Regions from separate parts of the Homo sapiens genome. Here all the other regions are linked to region 3. Evidence: promoter capture Hi-C in 16 types of primary human blood cells and fetal thymus (Javierre and others, 2016). All regions are on one chromosome and are shown on one strand. The core of a region is centred on a gene start or on the middle of the fragment in contact, and the rest is flanking DNA. Distances in the headings are between cores, read along the strand shown.

Region 1 (2,937 bases), core at 270-2,769, 370 kb after region 3:
CAGGAGCTCTTCCCGAGGTGAGTCCTCACATGGGGGCCCAAACAGTGAGGAGGGTGGCAGGTGCGGCGGCACACACTTGTAGTCCCAGCTACTAGGGAGACTGGGGCAGGAGGATCTCTTGATTCCAACAGTTCAACATCAGCTTGAGCAACACTGTGAGACCCTATCTCTTAAAAGAAAAAAAAAGATGAAGCGGGGCAAGGAGTGGATGGAGACCAAATAGGGGCAGGAGGCAGGACCCAGCTCAGTTGCCCAGCTGCCTTCCTGAGCCATGGCCAGGTGGGGATCATCTGCCCTTCTCACCCCATTCTCTCTCTCCTCCTACAGGGGCACAAATCCTTTTGCCACTGTCAAGCTTCGTCCCACCATCACCAATGACCGCTCAGCACCCCTCATCCGCTGAGGCGGGGTCCGAGGTCGTACCCCACAGTGCACCTGCCCAGGGGCTGTTCAGAGCTGGCAATGGCAGCGACAGCAGCAACAGCAGCAGATCCAAGAAGCGGGTCCCTGAGACGGGGGGTGGCTGCCCTCCCCAGACCACCCCGGCAGCCTGAGCAGCTCCAAAGCACTGGCTTGGGGTCCGAGACCTTCAAAGTAAAGCAGGCGGAATGGGGGGACAGGACAATTTCTCCCCCTCCAGGGGCTCCAGGACTCTCCCTGGGGGGCCCACCTCTTGCCCCCTAACCTCTTTCCCCCTTTTCTGCCCCCGTGGGGAGGAGCCCCTTGTACCTGCTCCGTGCCCAACACATGCCCTCTCTGTACATCTTTTGTAAATGATGAGAAATAAAGGAAGTGGACGCAAAGTGATGCGGCAGCAGGACTGGTGGTGTCTTATTTGGGGGACAGGGCAGGGGGTGAGGGATAGAGACTCCCCCATTGGAGAATGGGGTCTAGGGGGTACTGAGGTCCTGGCTGTTCCCCGGGAAGCCATCTCACTCCCAGCCCCTTGTTTGTTTGTTTGGAGAACTCTTTAGGGCTGCCCCAAAGCCCTCGCGCTGCAGCCCCCATCTCCACCTGCTCTCATTTCGACCTGTGGGTTTCCTAGGAAGTAGCGGCTGCTCGGGTCAGGGGAGAGGTGGCAGTGGCCAAGGGCTGGGACCACCAGCAAGCTGCCCTCAGGCGGCCTGGACACAGCACCCTTTGTTTTGGCCCCTCCCCCCCCCACATTCCCAGGCACAGGCGTGGATTAGCTTCATTCTAGAGAAAGCTGCCAGCCCCTCCTGGAATGTGGCCTGGGGCGGGGGGTTGGGGCGGGGGCAGATGAGGCACTGAGGTGATTAGAACCGTTGGGGTCTCTTCAGGGCAGGGCTGTGCCCCCAGCACCAGACTAGGACCCCCTGGGCAAGGTCTCTGTGTCTACCACCCCAGGCTCCAGGAGGCACAGGGATTCTCTTCCTCCCTCCTGGACTGGCTTGGGACAGGGAGCCCACCGCCGAGGCCCAGCCTGGCCTGGGGCTCCCAGTCTCTTCTCCCCTCCTGGACAAAAGCCTCTTAGCAGGGGTGAGGTGTGGTGGGGGCACACACTCTAAGCTCCAGGCCTGGGGCAGGGAGCGTCAGGCGGGAGTCGGCCAGAGGCTCAGCCCAGGCTGGTGGGAAGCTGGGGTGTCTGGCAGCCCCCATCCGGGTAAGCTTCACCGGGAGCTGCGGCGGCGGCCCCTCCCTGCAGGCCTCAGGAGATGTGAGGCTGGACCCCCAAACCCACGAGGCAGGCTCAGGTGAGTGTGATGTGAGGGCTGCCTGGGATCACCCTCCTGTCTCCACCTTCAAGTGGCTGCCCCTGTGACAAGAGGACAACAGGCAGGAAAAGCCACAACCTGGTCCTAGTGGAGGAGGGGCAGAGTCCCGGATACCCTGGGGGTGGTGGCACTGCCCAGTGCCAGGAGGGACACTCCAGGCAGGAGGGCAGGAGGCTATCCCCAGCCCCCGGCTCCTGGTGCACCTGTCTCTGAGTACACCCTCCTCATCTGTTATGGGGGCGCTTGTAACTGCTGTGAGGGCCCCGGGTGGAGCCCCAGGAATGAGACAGGCTTTGGAGCCATTCTTTTCATATAGAGGGTTTGAGGTTTGGAGGGCAGAAGGCCACTCTCTCAGTGCTGCTAAGGTTCCTACCTGTCTGGCAGAAGCCAGAGACCTGACTCCTCTCCCGCAAGATTCCCAGCTGGCCTCGGGGTGATCAATCACCCATCTTACATCGGAGGAAAGGGAGGTTGGGAGAGGGGAGGCGACCGGCCCAAGTCAGGGAGGGAATCCATGGCTGAGCTGAGATGCATGGGAACTCAGCTCCCCTGGCTGATATCTGTTGAAAGTGGCTTTTGTCCCCTTAATGTTCTAATGACAATAGTCATTTGTGATCACTGAGAAACATTAGGAACATGGCGGAAGGCTAAAGAGGAAAATCACGCACAGCGGCCCTTTGCAGCCGGCATCTGCCCCTCTGCTGTTTGTTCTGTTGTCCCGAGACCCTCACGCGTACGGGGCGACTTTGGTGCTGGACGCCCACCTCCAGGCACATACCTGCTCCACTTCCCGACGCCTTCCACCTGAGGCCCTGAGGGGCCAGCAGTTGTCCTTCAGAGGGAGCCTGCAGAGGTGCAGAGTCAGGTGGGACCCGTCGTCCTCCCCTCGTCCTTCAGCGCCCTTTGCAGGAGAAGGAGACTTGGGGTGAGAGTCCTACCTCCGTTTCCCCTTTTGGTTCCCAGACCTGAGCCACCCTCACGTGGGTAGCCCTGTGCCTCAGTTTCCCCATGCTTCGTCTCCATCCCCCTCCTTCTCTAGGCTGCTGGCCCAGCCCCTCCCTCTTGTCCCCGCCCCCTCCCAACAGAGGCAGCGATGGGCGCTGGCGGCCCCCGGCGGGGCGAGGGCCCCCCAGACGGCGGCTGGGGCTGGGTGGTGCTGGGCGCCTGCTTTGTGGTCACCGGCTTCGCCTACGGCTTCCCC
Region 2 (3,043 bases), core at 4-2,503, 350 kb after region 3:
CCATTTCTTCATGAAGCCCTGTTTTTACTTTTTGTTTTTAGTGCAAGTGGTATTTCAAAGCCATAATCTGAATACTAGTGGTGCTCATTGCCACTGGCTTGATCTTTGTTTCTAGGCTTTTTTGGTGGCTGTGCAACGCATAGATGGATACATATTTATATGCAATGTGTGTGTACACACATATAACACATATTCTCTCGCTCTGTCTCTTTATTTCTATTGCTGCTGGACAAATTCATCTTATTTATTTATTTATTTATTTTCAGAGGCAGAGTCTCACTCTGTCACCCAGGCTGAAGTGCAGTGGTACAATCATAGCTCATTGCAGTCTCCAACTCCTGGGCTCAAATGATCTTCCTGCCTCAGCCTCCCAAGTAGCTGGGACTATAAGAAAATGCCACCGTGCCTGGCTAATTTTTTTTTTTTTTTAATTTTGAGATGGAGTGTCACTCTGTCTCCCAGGCTGGAGTGCAGTGGTGTGATATCGGCTCACTGCAAGCTCCGCCTCCCAGGTTCACGCCATTCTCCTGCCTCAGCCTCCCGAGTAGCTGGGACCACAGGCGCCTGCCACCATGCCGGGCTAATTTTTTTTTTTTGGTATGTTTAGTAGAGACGGGATTTCACCGTGTTAGCCAGGATGGTCTTGATATCCTGACCTCGTGATCCACCCGCCTTGGTCTCCCAGAGTGCTGGGATTACAGGTGTGAGCCACCGCACCCGGCCGTGCCTGGATAATTTTTAAACTCTTTTTATAGAGATGAGGTCTCACTATGTTGCCCAGGCTGGTCTTGAACTCCTGGCCTCAAGCAGTCCTCCCATCTGGGCCTCCCAAAGTGCTAGGATCACTTTTAGACCATTGATTCATTTTCTTCTGTTTCATGGGCCTTTCTGGTGTGTTTTGGTTGTCAGTAGGAATGTTATTCTCTTCCATATTCTCTTTTTTCTAATAATAACTTTCTATTGGATTTCACCTCAGAGATTGTCTGTGGAAAAGTAGGTTTTTTCCTGAAATTGTAAAAGGAGCACAGTCAAGACAGCTCTTCTCACTTTGCAAGATCTCTTTCTGTTGTTCTTATGTAGTTTTCCAAAAATATGGCAGCTCCCTTTCTGCAATTTCCTGGTTCCGTTCATGCTCCTACTTTTGTTAGACTTTCTCTTTCCTTTTGTGTCTGTTGTCCTTGTTCCTGATTTTGATCCTCCTCACGGCATTCTCTCCTCCACATGGGCCCTGTCTGGATGGGAGCCTGGCTGGTCAGTTTCAAGACTTCCTAGAGGCTCGACTACTCCAGCCCCTTCAGACTTTACCAGGGACCTCTTACCTTCACCCTTTGGACTCACAAACTCCTTGGAGTTTCAGCTGCTGTTCACAGACTGGCCTACTGAGCTTCCCATGACCATCTGCTGGCCATGTCGGGGTGCACCTGTGCTCAGGTCCCTCAACGCCCAGCTACCTCCCACTGCTCCATCCACATGGATGCTGGTCACACTGACCTCACAGCCGGTGCTGATTTTTGTTTGGAGGGTTGTAGAGATATACTGTCATAGTTTTGTTCTGAATGTTGTCTTGAGTTTATTTTTTTCTTTTGGTGGTTTTGTTTGTTTTGTTTTGTTTGTTTGTTTGTTTTTTGAGACGGAATCTTGCTCTGTCACCCAGGCTGGAGTGCAATGGCGCCATCTCAGCTCACTGCAACCTCTGCCTCCCGGGTTCAAGCGATTCTCCTGCCTCAGCCTCCCAAATAGCTGGGATTATAGGCGCGTGCCACCATGCTCGGCTAATTTATGTACTTTTAGTAGAGATGGGGTTTCACTATGTTGGCCAGGCTGGTCTCAAACTCCTGACCTCAGGTGATCCACACACCTTGGCCTTCCAAAGTGCTGTGATTACAGGCATGAGCCACTGTGCCTGGACTTTTTTTTTTTTTTTTTTTTTTTTTGAGACAGGATCTCACTGTGTCACCCAGGCTGGAGTACAGTGGTGCAGTCACAGCTCATTGCAGCCTAGACTTCCTGGGCTCGGGCAATCCTCTCACCTCAGCCTCCCAAGTAGCTAGGACCACAGGCATGAACCACCACGTCTGGCTTTTTTTTTTTTTTTTTTTTTTTTTTTTTATGTAGAGACAGCATCTTACTATGTTGCCCAGGCTGGTCTGGAACTCTTGGGCTCGAGCAATCCTCCCACCTCAGCCTCCCAAAGTGCTGGAATTACAGGTGTGAGCCACTGTGCCTGGCTAGTCTTAAGTTTTTTATTTTGCTGTCTGGTTTCTCCATTCATTTTTAGGAGAAGATGAAGGAAGGTTTTGAAACTACATTTTATTTCCACCATCATCCCAGACCTGAGTTTTTTTTTCTACTGAGGTAAAGTTTACATACAATAAGATGAAGTTCCTAAATATGTTGAGTGTTAAGTTCAACAGATTTTGACAATTGTATGCCCTGTGTGGCCACCATGTTAAACAGGATTTATTTAGAACGTTTCCATCAACCCAGAAAGTTCTCTTATGTCCCTTTTGTCAGTGTCGCCCCCTAGGGGCAAAGGCTTTCTGACTTCTATCTCTGCAGATGAATTTTGCCTGTTCTAGTGCTTCGTTTGAGTGGAACTGTGCCCTGTATATTCTTTTGTGTCTAGCTTCTTTCACTCAGCATAAGGTCTGTAAGATTAATTCATGTTGTTGCATTGTATGAATCTGTTTGTGTCACTATCAAGGAATACCTGAGACTGGGTAATTTATAAGGAAAAGAGGTATATTTTGGCTCATGGTTCTGCAAACTGTACAAGCATGGCACCAACATCTACTTAGCTTCTCATGAGGGCCTCAGGAGGCTTACAATCATGGCGGAAGGTGAAGGGGTAACAGGTGCGTCACATGGCAAGACAGCAAGAGAGAGAGTGGGGAGGTGCTAAGCTTTATTTATTTATTTATTTATTTATTTATTTATTTATTTATTTATTTATTGAGACGGAGTTCCACTCTGTTGCCCAGGCTGGCATGCAGTGGTGCGATCTCGGCTCACTGCAACCTCCGCCCCCTAGGGTTCAAGCGAT
Region 3 (3,091 bases), core at 555-3,054:
TACCTGTGGATTTATGGGATGTGGGATGCCGGATAAGGTGGGGCCTGACTATACCACACTGAGGAGTTGGGACTGAATCCTTTTGAGTAGGGAGAGCCCACGAGGAAGGGAAACACTTGTGGTGGTTTGTGTGTTGCTGTTCTTATGCTGACATCCTCGAGGCTCAGGAGAGCCAGAGGGGATTTCAGATTTCATCAGTTCTCCACCTGGCTTTGGGGTGCCTCGGTCTCTCCCTCTCTGTAATGGGGCTAGTCGGTGATGGCCAGACTCCCAGGGAAGTTTTGCTGGCTGTCTAACTGCAGGTGTTCTCTCGTCCTACCACCCTGGAAGGAGGAGCACTTTCCCTCCTGTCTCCTCGGAGGGCTAGAGTGACGTGGCAGGATGGTCAGGATGTAGCTGGCTAGACAGGTGCTGTGGGTGCTGGGGGTTCCCTGACACCCCAGAGTGTGGGGCCCAGGCCTGACAGCTTGGGGTAATGGAGAGCGACAGAGAATAAGAGACTAGGGTTTGGCCTGGCTTTGTCATCTCTGGGTGACCTTGGCCGAGTTTCTGACCCTCTCTGGTACCCAGTCTCGCCATCTGTAAAATGGGGCAGTGGTGACTGAGTGATCGCGAGGGTCCCTCCAATAGGGCCCCCTCAGACTCCCAGAGTGAGGTGCTTCGGGTCCTTGACCGGCGGTACTTTGGGAGAGTACGAGGACCGCTAAGGAGAGGGGCGGACTCCGTGGGACCCCAGAGGGACCAGCTCCCACCCACCCCCCTTCCCGGCTCGGAGGAACCCTCTCCACCTGCCCCCTTTTGGGGGGGGGGCACAAAACCCGGGAGCGGATCCAGGAACGGGTTCTGGGAGGAGCGCTCCTGGGGCGAGGAGGAAAACCCGGGCAGGATCCAGGGCAGGAGCGGGGCCAGCAGCCCCCCGCCCCAGCCCCTGCTCCGCGCCGCGGGCCCCGCGGGAGGGGGCTTGAGGCCGGGTTAGGCCGAGGGGCGGGCAGGGCGGGGTCCCGCGGGCAGCCGGGGCTCCCGGGCTGGGGGGCGCGCGGCCTCCGCAGTGGGGCGCGGGTCACGTGTGAGGAGGGGCGAAAGTCTCGCAAAGCGGGGCGGCGTGCCGCGAGTTGGGAGTTCTCGGCGCGCCGCGGGCGGCGGGAGCTCGGGCTCCCGGGCGAGCCGGGGACGCGGCCAAGGCGGGGGCCGGGGTCCGAGACAGAGGGGGCCGCACGGAGAGTGGGAGGGGGAGAGACAGAGAAGGACAGGGGCCGCGAGGGAGACGGACAGAGACGCGCAGGGGAGAGAGGCAGCGCGGGCAGAGGGAGGCGGGGGGAGGCCGGCGGGCGACCGCGACGGAGACGGAGACCCCGCGGGCAGAGGGCGAGCGGGGCCGCAGGAGGCAGGGAGGCCGGGAGAGGGACCGGGACGCGAGCGCGGCGGAGACCCCGGCGGCAGGAGAGAGACGCGAGAGCGGTCGGGGAGGTGGCGACAGAGCCCGGCCGGCGGGGGCGGGGAGGGCGACCCCAGGCCGGGAGGCCGAGGGGTCGCGGGGCCGGGGCCGAGCGCAGCGGGGCCGGGAGTGGAGCGCAGGGCCGGGGGCAGAGCGCGCGAGCAGGAGCGGGTGACAGCGAGGGAGCTGGGCGCAGCGGGGGACGGCGGCGGGGAGGGCGCCTGCAGCGGGGGTGGGGGGCGCGGGCGGCGGGGCGCCCCGGGCCCCCGGACCCCCGCGCTGTGAGCCCGGCCGGGCCCGACGATGCTGACGCCGAGGCGGCGCCGAGGGCGCGGCGCGGGGCAGCGCTGAAAGTTGGGCGGCCCGCGGGGAGCGGCGCGGGACGGCCGGGACGCGCGGAGACCCCAAGACCCACGCGCAGACCGAGCGGCAGCCGGGGAGGGGAGCGCGGGCCGGCCGGCCGAGTTCGCGGGCAGGGGGCGCCGGGACTCCCCTTTCCGCGCCCGGGACGCCGCCCGCCGGATCGCGCCTTGGGATGTAGCGCCCGCTCGCCGCCTCCCGGACTCTCGTCGGACCCTCCGCCCAGCGGTAAGCCGCGCTCGCCCACCCCGGGCGCTGTCCGTCAGTTTGTCCCGCCGCGTGCGTGTCTGTGTGTCCCGGGCCCGCCGCTCCGGCCCCGCCCGCTCCGCACCTGATCCGGAGCCGGGTCCCGGCTGCCCGGCGCCGCGCGCGCGGTCCCGTGACTCCCCGGGAGCGGGCGGGCTCCACGGGCGGGCTCTGTCCGTCTGTCCGTCTGGGAGCGTCGCGGTCTGGGTTGTGGCCTGGAAAGGGGGAGAGAGGTGGGTGGAAGGGGTCTTGACCTCCTGCCCCAGCCATGACCTTTCCCTGCCTCCACCCACCCCAGTTGTCATGCCGGGGAGCTTCAAGGCAGGTGACTTGTGGCAAGGTGGGGGATGCCGCCTTTCCGCCTCCCCAGCTGCATCCTCGTTGCAAATGGCCCTGTGATCTGAAGAACGAAATCTCACTTCTCATGTTTTGAGCACCTACTTGGCGCCACACGACCCCAGGGCGCAGGGGCAGGGATTGGTAGAGGAGGCACTGCACGTTCACAGTGATAGACACAGGCTGGGGAGGGAGGCAGAGGCTGCTTTTTCCTCCGTGTGTAGGGAGCACCCCAAGGCAAGAGAGGTCTCAATGAGCCTCCCGCAGGGAGAACTTCCCCTGCAACCTGCCAAATGTCCCCCCACCAGTGTCAGCCTCCCTGCCCCCTACCCACATTTCTGCCCCCAGTGTCCCTGCTTCAGGATGGACAGGATGCAGGGAGTTGGGAGGTGGCAAGCTGGGTGGGGTGGAGCGGCGGGCTAGAGGCAGGGCAGCCTGGCCAGCTGACAGAGCAGGGCCTCAAGAGCAGTAGAATGTTCAGCAGCAGGTTTGGGGGAAGTGGGGAACTCAGGGAGGGAGGCCCAGAGAAGGGTTGGAGCCGTGTGTGTGTGTGTTCTCCCCCACATCCAGTCCCATGACCTCCATGGCTTCAGGCCTTTTGGGGGCAGTTAGCAGGACTTTAGGGGCCCAAGAGCCTCACTGTGGCCCTGGCTTGGCCTGTGCTGAGGGGAGCAAAAGGTGGACCAGGGCAGCTGGGGTAAGAGATGGGTGCAG
Region 4 (2,700 bases), core at 170-2,669, 430 kb after region 3:
ATCTCATTTAATCCTTGCAACCATCCTGCAGGCTCTGTGGTATTACTGTCCGCATTTTACAGATGAGTTTGAAAAAGATGAAGCAGATTGTCCAGGGCCCTGCAGATGGAATGACACCCAAACTCTCGCTCTTAACCCCTGCGTCTTGGAAGAGGTGTGCTGGAGCTGAGGCCTGACAGAGTAGTAGGAGTTTCCCAAGGGACAAGGAGGGAGGGGGCGACACCGACACTTGCCAAGACCCGTCTTTCCATTGGCAGGGTCTGAAGTGCTGGTGGTCTGTAGCCTGCTTCCTTACCTCTTGCCCAGGGCCTCTCACAGCTCTTCCAGCCCTCGTCCTGTCCCAGGGCCCCTCATTTCACAGACCCTGCCTTTCCCACCCCCTACTGGTGACAGCCGACTGATCTGATGGATTTGTCCAGCAACTGAGCTGGGGGTGGGGTGGGAGAGGGCCTGTTCCTGATCCCCGGGGAACCACTGACCACGCTCCCCAGGCCTTCCCAGCACAACCCTGCCCCCACCCACACCTCCCCACTGCATGACCTCTTCTTATCCCGGGAGTGACCCTGCAAAGCAAGTCATCCCAGAGAAGTGAGGATGTGCCTGAATCACCCAGTGCATAAGCAGCTGAGCTAAGTCTCAGACCCACAGGCCTGGGGTCTCAGACCATGGCGGTCCCCTGGGCTTGGACAAACCACAGAGTACTTTTCTATCCTCGGGCTCCGGTTTGCAGGGCACCATGGGAATGATCGGGGAGAAGGAGGGTTGAGCACTAGCAGTCTTGGGCAAATACAGTTTATAACCCAGGGTGTGGCAGTGCGCTGGAGTCAGCGCACACTGGCTCCCGAGAGCCAACTGTGAAAGTCTCTGGAATCGAAGCCAGTTGATATTACCTTGGAAGCTTTGAGCCTGCCCTGATGGGACTTTTTCCACTATGAAAATTGGCAGTCTACCTCTGTGTCTCCCACCTCCACAAACAGAGCTGGTTGTGAAGCATATTTACCAGCACATGACTGTCCAGAGGGCCCGACTCCTGGCTCCCCAGGGGGCTTGTGGGTTCTCTCAAGCTCCCAGCCCTATCTGGGGATCTTCGGGGAGTCGTTCTTGCTCAAAATCCATTGATATCTCCCACTTGCCACCAATAAAAGTCCAGACTCCTCCCCTGGGTTTTCCATCCCCAGCTTCAGGCCCAGGCAATCTTCCCAGCTGCATCTTAACTGTTCCCTTGCTGCCCCCACGCTTGAGCCAAACAAGAACAGATGATGCTTGTGGAAAAGGCCCTTGCTTCCTTAGTTTCCTGCTGCTGCAACAGCCTCACCTTGGCTCACGCTATTCCCTTTTCCCAAAATGCCTTTCCCCTAACTCTGCCTCTTGAAATCATCTCCAGCCTGCAAGGCTCATTCACAATTGGTGTTCAATCAATGTTTCTTGGCTGAATGGGAGGGAGCGTGGACGAAGGCTCCACAACCAGGACTGACCTGATGGTGCCTTGGTGAAGGCTAAGACCCTGGGAAACCCTGCATCCAATCCTCTGCCTCAGGACAGAGACACCCCAAAATCCCCTGCCTTCCCTAGCTTGCTTGCAGTCTCCCAGATGATGGGGTGTTAATGGAGGACAGACTGGTCACTGCTTCACAGGTAGCAAAAACAGAAACCAACTTGAACCATCCAGGTTACCTGGAAACCAATCCCTTCATTCTGTGGTCAGTCTCAAACTCCTCTGCATCCTTCAAAACCCATCCCAGGTGCTGCCTCCATTGAGAGGTCTTGCCAGTTAGAAGTCCTCCATTACCCCCTTGCCCCTGTGCCCTGCACACACTGATCATTGCACTCATGGCACAGGGTAGTGCTTATCTGTCTGTCCATCACCCCACTAGACCATAGCCAGAGGAGACAGAGCCTTATTTAAGGCTTTATCCTCAGGCTGGTGCCCAACAAGCTTAGGAGGTGCTTGTTGAACTAACTTGAAATGACTCCATCACTGTCAGCCAAGTCATCCTCCACTATCCTTGGGCCTCAGTTTTCCCCTCTGGATAAGCCAGACTTAGACGGGGTCATTTCCAAAGACATTCTGCATCTCCTATTCTGGGATTCTGTGATATGCCCCACTCCTTATCCATCTCTAATCTTCAAGTCTCCTTCCCTAAGCTGCAAGCCTTCCAGTGGGTGACGCCCCTTCCTCGGCTGCCTTCACCAGCACCACCTCACCCTGCAGACCACAGCAGTCTCTCCTCAGACCCCTGAACTCCCTTTTTCAGGGTGTTCTCTTCTCTCAGACTGTGGACTCCTCTGAAACCCTTTCAGAAGCCTCTCCTGCCCACTCCAGGCCTGGCTCACCAGCCAAGTGCACAGTCAGCACCCATAAGTGCCCATCAATGAGCTGTGATGGAGTGGCCGGGGCTTGCAGGGCCTTTGGAGAGCTGGCAGAGTTCCTGTTCAGACAGGCCTGGGAGCTGCCTGCCTATCACAGTGCGGGTGGAGGGTCCCCTAAAGCCCCCAGGACAAACAGCCACATCCCATTCTCTGCCTATTTCACTCAGACCTTCAGAGGGTGTGTGTGCAGGAGCGGGACAGGCTGTTGCTGCTGCCCCTTCCTCCCCATCCCACAGAGGGACACAGTGGCTATGTGGCCGCTGTCCTCTCCCCAATTTCTGCTTTCTTCTCTATCTCCCAAGCACACCCAGAGACATGCACGTGCATACA

What was found. The method cuts DNA at HindIII sites, captures the fragments that hold promoters and counts their contacts. A CHiCAGO score of 5 or more calls a contact.
Region 1: a contact is called between the fragment with the promoter of SLC16A8 here and the fragment with the promoter of KCNJ4 in region 3, in 13 of 17 cell types (erythroblasts, monocytes, naive B cells and 10 more). The highest score is 10.6, in erythroblasts.
Region 2: a contact is called between a fragment that was not itself captured here and the fragment with the promoter of KCNJ4 in region 3, in 1 of 17 cell types (erythroblasts). The highest score is 5.0, in erythroblasts.
Region 4: a fragment that was not itself captured here is called in contact with the fragment with the promoter of KCNJ4 in region 3 in 3 of 17 cell types (erythroblasts, M1 macrophages and endothelial precursors); the score reaches 6.8 in erythroblasts.

The regions. Positions count from the first base shown.
Region 1 is chr22:38,082,766-38,085,702 of GRCh38, reverse strand. SLC16A8 (solute carrier family 16 member 8) reads left to right here and starts at 1,519. Exons shown (of 6, transcript NM_013356.3): 1 at 1,519-1,715; 2 at 2,342-2,661; 3 at 2,822-2,937. The coding sequence starts at 2,830. BAIAP2L2 (BAR/IMD domain containing adaptor protein 2 like 2) reads left to right here. Exons shown (of 14, transcript NM_025045.6): 13 at 1-17; 14 at 328-803. The coding sequence ends at 403. RefSeq lists an enhancer at 1,254-2,035. The HindIII fragment of the contact is 1,274 bases long and covers 358-1,631 here.
Region 2 is chr22:38,100,438-38,103,480 of GRCh38, reverse strand. All of the region lies in intron 4 of BAIAP2L2 (BAR/IMD domain containing adaptor protein 2 like 2), which reads left to right. Among named protein-coding and RNA genes, the nearest start is that of BAIAP2L2, 8.7 kb to the left of the region's middle. The HindIII fragment of the contact is 3,305 bases long and covers 1-2,905 here.
Region 3 is chr22:38,453,912-38,457,002 of GRCh38, reverse strand. It overlaps KCNJ4 (potassium inwardly rectifying channel subfamily J member 4), which reads left to right and starts at 1,804. Exons shown (of 2, transcript NM_152868.3): 1 at 1,804-2,023. The HindIII fragment of the contact is 17,538 bases long and covers 1-3,091 here.
Region 4 is chr22:38,028,603-38,031,302 of GRCh38, reverse strand. It overlaps a transcript of POLR2F not described here. Among named protein-coding and RNA genes, the nearest start is that of POLR2F-AS1, 4.3 kb to the left of the region's middle. RefSeq lists enhancers at 1-281, 2,376-2,700. The HindIII fragment of the contact is 1,038 bases long and covers 901-1,938 here.